3 separate regions of the Homo sapiens genome follow, and all the other regions are linked to region 3. Evidence: promoter capture Hi-C in 16 types of primary human blood cells and fetal thymus (Javierre and others, 2016). All regions are on one chromosome and are shown on one strand. The core of a region is centred on a gene start or on the middle of the fragment in contact, and the rest is flanking DNA. Distances in the headings are between cores, read along the strand shown. Region 1 overlaps CHRM3 (cholinergic receptor muscarinic 3). Region 2 overlaps CHRM3 (cholinergic receptor muscarinic 3). Region 3 holds the start of CHRM3 (cholinergic receptor muscarinic 3).

Region 1 (2,783 bases), core at 235-2,734, 330 kb after region 3:
GAATGCAGATTTGAGAAGATACCTACAATTAGCTATCAGCTCCAGTGCACCACCACATAGAAACCAATGGGATGGGAGAGGTTGAAGGTTTGTGTGAGAAGTGGGATTGCTAATAAAACAGATAAAGAGGGAGGAAGGTAGGATCCAGAGTAAAAGTGGGAAGATTAGTTTTGGATAAGAGAAAAGATATCTCTTCTAATGAGTTGGGTGGCAAAGAGTTAGGCTGGAATCAGTTCATAGGGAGGAAAGGACATTGAGTTAATTCTCACTTCACAGGCTATTTTACCTGTAAATTAGGACAGGAGGGCTTTGCTGAGAGTGAGGAAGTGGCAGTTTGTACATACTGTTGGATTGGAAGAAACAGTTAAAGCTTGAAAGAAAAGGAGATGTGGAAGGAAATTTGGACAGTGTTGAAGTCCTAGTGATGTTGAAGACCAGGGCTTTGTACCAGTACCATTCTGCAGAGTCACATGAAGTTAACCAGAATGTAGCAACCCAGGTGTATGAAAACAGACATAAAATAATTGCATTGATCTTGGGTTGAAATTCTGGAGGAAAATGTGGAGGGACGACAAGAATTCAAACGAGAAGTGGGTACTAACAGGAGGATGTTTGAAGTGATAGGCTATGATGTCTAGGTTAAAGAGAGAAGAAAGTAGAGCCAAAGGGAGCTTTTAGAAGTAAAGAAAGTGATACTTTTAGGGGATTTGAGATATGAATGAGGTTGTAGAACTGATGGAGTGGAAATACAAAGTCGGTAGAGTTGAAAAGTTGGTTGGCGCTGTTTAGAGAATAACTTCACAGAGTGAACAAGTATAGAGGTGGCCAAGTTTGGGGTCTCCATGATTGTGACTGGCTGAAGCAGAGTGGAGGTTCAAAAAGACTATTGTAGTGAATAATAGGGAGCTATAAAGCAGGTGCTGGTTGATAATCGAAAAGGGCATTGACGTCATCCAGGATCTTGGGTTGGATATTAAGACTTTAAGCCATGTACCAAAGCCTTTGTTAAATGTAGAAGGCTTCACTGGGACTCCAGCCATTCACAGGGAGAAATGATGTTTACAGCTAAACAGTGTGACTCTCAAAAGAGCCTTTTTTTGCAAGAGAGTGAATAAATAATATTTTTAATTTGGTAATAAGGAAAGCTAACCAGTGGGTCCTAAAATAGAATTAAAAAAAGAAGAGGAAGAGGAGAAGGGAGAAGAAGGGAAAGGAAAGAAGAACCTAAACTTTAAAAAACCTTGCTAGAAGAAGGGAGGGGCCCAAACGTAGCTCAAGGGGAGCGGGGATGTAGCTCTCTGACAAAATGAGAATGTACAGGAGGGTTCATTTGGTTTATTTGTATGTGTATTTGGTTGTTTGGCTTTGTTTAGATTTGTTATTAATAGTTTGTTTTGATTTTAACCATCCATATGGCATATTTGAAGAATACTTGTTCCAGATAATAGTTATGAGATGACATATTAAGGGACAATAATTGAAATGTCCTCAATGCCAGAAAAACAAATGTTCTCAATCACTTCCAGTTTTTTTTTTTGCATGAATAAAGTTACCATGAGTACATTTTCCAAAAAAGAAAAAGTTCAAATGTAAGATCTGAGTTGAATTGTGAGCTTCTCTAACGGTGTTCTTGGATTCATTTTTCAACTGCAAAAGATTGAGATCCTGAATAAGGCTTATGGGTGTATTAAAACTGTGCCCTTGCAGAGGAAGTAGCCTTGAATAGTTATTGGCTTTGAAAGCAACCAGTTTTGTTGACTTAATTATGCTGGTACCAGGAAAGCATAGAATAGATCCTGTTGATAACAAGAGCCATGCTGGACATTAACAGTTTCACAGAGAGTAGTGGGGACCATTTCTTTGGAATAAAGTTGAAACATGTTTCTTAATAGACAACTCTCTCAGCATTATAAAATCCTGATACAGAACTCAAGGAAAGACACACACGCACACACACACACACACATGATTTTTATCGTTGTTATCTTAGTAAATAATGACTAATGTGGTTTTTGGTTGTTATCAGTTGGTTACGGATTGGAGTTAACATTTCATCAGATCTGAGCAATAACCTATGTGGTAAAGTCCTAGTGTGGCAGGAATTTGGGATTCAAGGGGGGTGCTTATATAATCTGCTTTCTTAAGGTAAGGTTTGCTCTTTTATGCTACCTGTCATTTCTGCCTTAAACAATGTCCGGGAAATTCAGCCACACACAACAAAGAACCAGATCCCTCATTTCGGTTCTATCCTTCCTCCTCTAGAACTGACATTCCTTGGGGCCGTGTCCTCAAGTGACGTGTCCTGCTCTAGCTAAATGGCAGTAATCTGTGTTTGACTCCAGCAGTTTATCAAGCTATGTCATTTTATGCCATGTCAGTTTATAGAGAGTGGCACAAGATACAACAGGATAGGGAAGCTGAGTTTTCTATTTGTCTACTTCATTGAAAACATGATTTTGTTTACTGACAAGTAAATGGTATAGGTGTAAGGAAAGAGTAGCAACTACCATATTATTTTGCCAGAATCCTCATGTTACCGTTTCAAAAAATGCCAAGAAAGATGACAGTGCATGTTATAACATCCCTTACAAATAATAGCAAAGCTTTAATCAGCTGCTACACAGACACACTCAGGATTGAAATGCAACCTACTAGGGTGAAACATGACAAGCGGTTCATTGAACACTGCGCAGAAGGTAAATGAAGTGTATATTTTCCAATCACAACTGGAATTTTAAGTGAGTGAAATGGAATAAACTCAGTTTGGAATTTGAAATAAATTC
Region 2 (2,700 bases), core at 120-2,619, 350 kb after region 3:
ATGTTTTGTTTTCTCATATATAATAAAGTGTAATTAAGTAACTTGTAAAGAATTTGCCTATAAAAATGGCTGCAACTTAAAATATTCACTTAAAATATTCCATTGGGTAATCATAGAAATCGATTCTCTACTCTTAGTTTTGCATGAAAGTTCAGTCTTGCTGAAAATGTATGAATATACTTATATAACACATTTATATTTGTATAGAATTACTGCTACTGCAGAAGTATTTTAAAATAGTTTATTGTTATTGGTTCATTTAAGGGACTTTTCTATCCCCAAAATGAACTCTGGCTAAGTAAGTATACATGTGACTTAATATCAACATTTTCTTCATTCATATTACTTCTCTAATATATTACACTAAAGTATAAATAATTACAATGATGTGCCTAAATCTACTTAAAACCATTGGTCATCAGGGCATATTTATTAGAAGAATTTTCATCCCACATTTTAATAAAATGACCAAATAACTTTTACAATGCAATTATTGCCCTTTATCACCATGAGTAGTGAGTAAAGCCACTTTGCAATGATCTGTTTTGACAAAATAAATTTTCCAGAGAAAATCTGAGCAAATAATGGAACTTAAAACTAACCACTAAATCTATCCTCAGTCATAGAAAGTGCGATAATGTTGGGATGGTTGCCACAAATCATTTAAATTCAGAAAAAATAAACACACAACTAACCCCGTTTAGAGGTGTTCAGATGTTTCAAATGCCATTCAGCAAAGTCCTAAGCACATAGTTCAAAACTAAAGCCCTGACTCTTAACTTTGACCTCACTTGCTTTTACAACATCCTCTGCTCCTCAACCTTAAATTATAACCACTTTCTTCTTGCACATTTGTATCACTGGTTCTTGGCTGCTTAGGGCACTGAGAGTTGACCTAGGGTAGAGCAATGTTTTCCAGAGTTGGGATGGCATTGTTTGTAATGTTATGCTGCTCTCTGTGTTGTTTTTATTTGTTTCAAGGAGTAGGTGACCCAGAAAACTCTTCGTAAGACATCCTGCCTAGGAGACAATACTTATGAATTACAAAGTTATCTGTTAAGATATCTGATTAGATCTCAGAGAGTCAACAACTGAAGCAAGCTGATCTTTCAGAACACATACGGGCAATTAAAAAACAAACAAACAAAAAATGCCCAGAAACCACTGGCAGAAAATATGATTGACTACTTTTGTTTCTTCCTTATAATACCAACCTGGGAATGAGAATGACAAAAATAACAACAACAACAACAACAAAAAACTGAAATAATTACTTGTGGATGAAGCTTCTTTAATTTATCTAATTGTTTCATTAGCAGCAAGAATTAAGAGAACAACTTTAAAAACGAATATGGGGTTTGAGTTCACAATTCCTCCACTATGGCAGGTTTGCAGTGAAACATCAATATGACTAAATTTTCTCTAATGGTACCTTGTATCTGCATTTTGGTAACAAGCTTTTGGTTCCTTCTCTCACCCAGTCCTCCTCCCTGATAACCCCATGCCCTTCATTCCTTCTCTGAAGTCATCTATAATTGTAGGATGCACCTCTGTAGAGAATTTGAGAGAAGCTACATTGCTCAGCTCTTCAGCACCAGTGCCCTGTCGGGAGAGCCCTGGCTTGCAGTCAGTACTGGAGCTTAACAGTCGGGTCATCAGGTGGTTCCAGCCAGCCAAATGGGGATTATTATCCCAAGGCCAGGCTCAGGGGGGGTTTGGGAGTCCAGGAAGCATGTACAAATGGGAGAATAGAACACATTAATTTCAGGGCAGTCAGAAAACAGTGCTTCCCTAGGAAAGTGTGACTGTCCTCTTGAGTAGATGCATGTTGTAAATTTGATATTAGAAACATGTCAAATAAATGATTGAACATGAGGAATGAAATGAGAGAGGGACAAAAGCCCAGTCTATACAGACCCATGACTTTCTTTTCCCAGATCTTGTGCACTGGGAACAGAAACTTAAAATTAACCATTTGAACACTTTTTCTGCTCCCTCAAGAGGGCTTGTAGAGTGTATTCTGTTCACTTAGAAAAGCACTGTGTAAATAGCAGATATTATTCAGAGAGTCCTGTATCTATTCCTCTCCATGCATGGTCCTGGAAAAGACAGCTTTCATTTAAGGTTTGTTTTTGAGGTAGAAGCCTTGGTCACTGCTAAGGCACAGTGCATGCAATATCTCTTCTGAGGTTGCTCCTGGAAGATTTTTGCACCTGCCTCCCCTTACATCGTCCCTACCTGTTTCCATAGATTTCAATCGTTTTGTTAATGCTCACTACAGGAAGCACCTAAGAACAGAGTTGCTGTTCTGAGCAGATTCTATCTTGGGACATGATGGGTGGAGAACAGCCAAGAACATTGTAGCAAATAGGTGCCCAGTTGGGCTTTTCAATATTATGTATTTGACAGGGCACAGCAGCACCAGCATGCATTGGCATTGGAAAAATGCATTGCCCAGTTCTGTTTGAAAGCTCCTGTCATTTCAGAAGCACTTGAAAACGGGCATGCACTGAGTTTTGCTGCTGTGCTTGCCGGGGCTATTAATAGGAGCTCAGGACTTACACTTGTATTGCCCTTTTCACAAAAGAAAAAAATCCAAAAGTATTTCTTTTCCAAAACAGTACCAATCAAAGCCAACTGCAGCAATCTTTCACCATAACATTGCATAGCTGTTGAAACTTTAGTCAGGTGAGCTAAATC
Region 3 (2,700 bases), core at 67-2,566:
GCAATTTACCTAAGCCTAGATATTTTAATTAATTTAAGTAGCCACATGCTTTCTCACTAGCTATTTTCCCAGCATGATCTCAATCTTTTCTACGCAAAGTTTAGTCTCTTCTCTCCTAAAGATTGTTCTACCTAGAGAAGAATATAGGTTCAGAAAGGAATTCATATACTGGTGTTTCTCTAATCTCTTAGAATTACTTAATTTTTCAAAGAGCTCTATCTTTTCCTATTTATCTTCTTGTTCCAAATAGAATTAAAATCATTTGCTGCCTTTAATATTGTTAAATATTTCATTTCATACTATGCTTCAATTTCTTGCTTTTTTCTTCTTTTTATCTTCCTCCTTCCTTCCTTTTTCTTTCTTTTCTTCTTTTTCAGTTATCATTGTTATGCTTGTCCTTTCTTGTGAGATTCCTCTGTTATCTTTCCTTATGTGCTTTTTAAACAAAACCTCGAGAGTGCCGTGGGACAGCCTCATTGGTATCTTTTCAAATTTGGTATCTCTCCACTTTTTCCTTACATAGTTAGCTGGCAGTAGTACATAATAACCTTTTCTGTCTCTCTCTCTTTCTTTCTTTCTTTCTTTCTTTCTTTCTTTCTTTCTTTCTTAGATTTTCATTCCTCTTGAGCTTTAAAAGACTGGCTAGCAATGTTATATCTTTCATTTTATTTTCTGATTTAAAAAAGTGTGTGTGTGTGTGTGTGTGTGTGTGTGTGTGTGTGTGTGTGTACGCGCGCGCGCGCGCGCGTGCACGTCAGTGTCTTCTTCATGGATGCTTGTCTTATTTTCTCCCAAGGTGTAACTGTCCAGGGAGGGAAAAGTCAAGTCGTCCTCTATTACACTGCTCTGCAGAAACAGACTCACTAAATGTCAAAAAGTAGATGCATCAGACTGTTCCTTAGAGAAAGGTTTGCCATGGAGTCGTATATTGTAACTGAGCTGAAGTTCACTCATCGATAAGTTGTGCCCAAGGAATCGAATTCCTTCCAGTCCTTCTAAGCAGTCCAGGGAAACCAATTTAAAAGCGAACACAACAAAACTAACAGACCGGCAAAATCTATCTTTGAAGCGCCGCGGGAGGCACAATTTGGGAACAGGTGAGGCCATGCTGGGTGGGTGAGGCCCCCCTCTCTCCTGCTTGGTGTTCCGCTTTCAGCCAACCCACCCCAGGAGTACCCTGGGATCTCCTCGCCCCCTGCCAGGCGGAGAACGCGGAGCCCAGCGGGCACGCGGGAATGGAGCTAGGCGCCGGCAGGGCAACTGGGCATGCTCAGAAGCCGGGCAGGTTTTGGTCTCAAGCACGCAGCCTGTGCATTACACCAGCTCTCTCAGTCCGGGGAGGAGGAGGAGCAGGAGGAACGCGAGGAGGAAGGAGAGGAGGAGCGGCCAGCAGTAGCCACGACCGCCACCACCAGGCAGAGGAAGAGTTCGTGGGGAGGAAAAGACCTCTCCTCCCCCTTGGAGCGCCTTCTCTCTGCTTTTGGAGAAAGGGAATACACGATAAAGAAGGAGACGGAAAGAAGAGAAAAAGTGAGGCGGGAGACAGAGGGAAAAGGGCGTGAACAGAAAGGGCCGGAGCGTGCAGGGGAGCACAGGGCGCGGGGGCGGCACTGCCGAGCCGGGAGCGCTGCCGCTTGGGCAGGTGCCGCGGCCGCTGCCCGGAGGCGGCATGTGACGCGCGGCCGCAGCTGCCCGCGGGCGGAGCGCTCTCAGACCCCGGAGCGCACACCGCGGGGCCATCGGTGCCATCGCGGATCTCCAGGCTCCTCATCAGTCCGCCGGGGCCGCAGCAGCGCTTCTGGGAAGACGGGCGATGAACTGAAGGGCGGCTCCGGGCAGGGGGGCACGATCTTAAGGACAGTCGCTCCCTGAACGCGGAGCCGGAGGAGACGAAGGGAAGGTGGAGCGGACGCCACCCGCGCACCGGGCAGGCGCGGAGACCGGCGTGGGACAGCCACCTGGAGCGCAGCTGCCAGGTAGGGACGGCGCCCGCCACCCAGGCGCTGGGCAGAGCGGGTGGCGGTAGCGGCTGACCTGGTTTCTTGCCTTATCTCGTTGCGAAAGGAGGAAAAAGTTTTCGGCGCGGGTAGGAGAGGTCTTGTGTTTGGAGTCCAAAGAAGGGGCTGGGTAGGGACGAGAGAGGCTGTTGATTTGGGGAAGATGGGGGCACTTGAATTCCGACAGCGCGATCTGGTGCGGAGTTGGAGTTCTGGGACTGAGGGTGGGGAACGCCCGCTGGCACTCAAGTGCCCCGAAAGGGACGGGAATCATGCGAGCGGTGGCCGGGAGAGAGTCGGGGACGTCCCACCCCGCTCTCCCTCGCTTCGATTCTCTCTTCGCCACTGCCGGATCTGAGGCTCCAAAGTGCCCGAGCATGAGGAGCTACTGGGCTCCGGGTGTGTTTGTGAGCGCACTCGTGTGTTGAGCGTTTGTCTCCCATCTCCCCATTTGGTTTCCTGTCATTTCTAAGAAGGCTAAAGCTGGCACCCGCCAACCTCGCAGTGGGGCCGCAAGTTCGGATTGCATTTCAGGGGGCGAGAAGGCAAATTTGGCACTTCGAGTAACACTTGGGCGAAGGTACCTAGCCTAGTGCGCATCTTTACTGACCCGGGGAGAGTCTGCACTCGCGAGGCAGCGGCCGCTGGACTGCACCGGTTCTCCTCTTTGGAACACTTCCTCAGCATAGCCTCCTAATAGCGA

What was found. Contacts are between HindIII fragments. The CHiCAGO score rates a contact against its expected background, and 5 or more counts as called.
Region 1: a fragment that was not itself captured here is called in contact with the fragment with the promoter of CHRM3 in region 3 in 1 of 17 cell types (megakaryocytes); the score reaches 6.0 in megakaryocytes.
Region 2: a fragment that was not itself captured here is called in contact with the fragment with the promoter of CHRM3 in region 3 in 2 of 17 cell types (megakaryocytes and naive CD4 T cells); the score reaches 5.5 in megakaryocytes.

Annotation. Positions count from the first base shown.
Region 1 is chr1:239,715,520-239,718,302 of GRCh38, forward strand. The region is part of intron 5 of CHRM3 (cholinergic receptor muscarinic 3); the gene reads left to right. The region is part of intron 1 of CHRM3-AS2 (CHRM3 antisense RNA 2); the gene reads right to left. Among named protein-coding and RNA genes, the nearest start is that of CHRM3-AS2, 2.2 kb to the right of the region's middle. The HindIII fragment of the contact is 2,233 bases long and covers 369-2,601 here.
Region 2 is chr1:239,736,763-239,739,462 of GRCh38, forward strand. All of the region lies in intron 5 of CHRM3 (cholinergic receptor muscarinic 3), which reads left to right. Among named protein-coding and RNA genes, the nearest start is that of CHRM3-AS2, 19 kb to the left of the region's middle. The HindIII fragment of the contact is 171 bases long and covers 1,285-1,455 here.
Region 3 is chr1:239,385,252-239,387,951 of GRCh38, forward strand. CHRM3 (cholinergic receptor muscarinic 3) reads left to right here and starts at 1,317. Exons shown (of 7, transcript NM_001375978.1): 1 at 1,317-1,976. RefSeq lists enhancers at 2,039-2,539, 2,540-2,700. The HindIII fragment of the contact is 9,736 bases long and covers 1-2,700 here.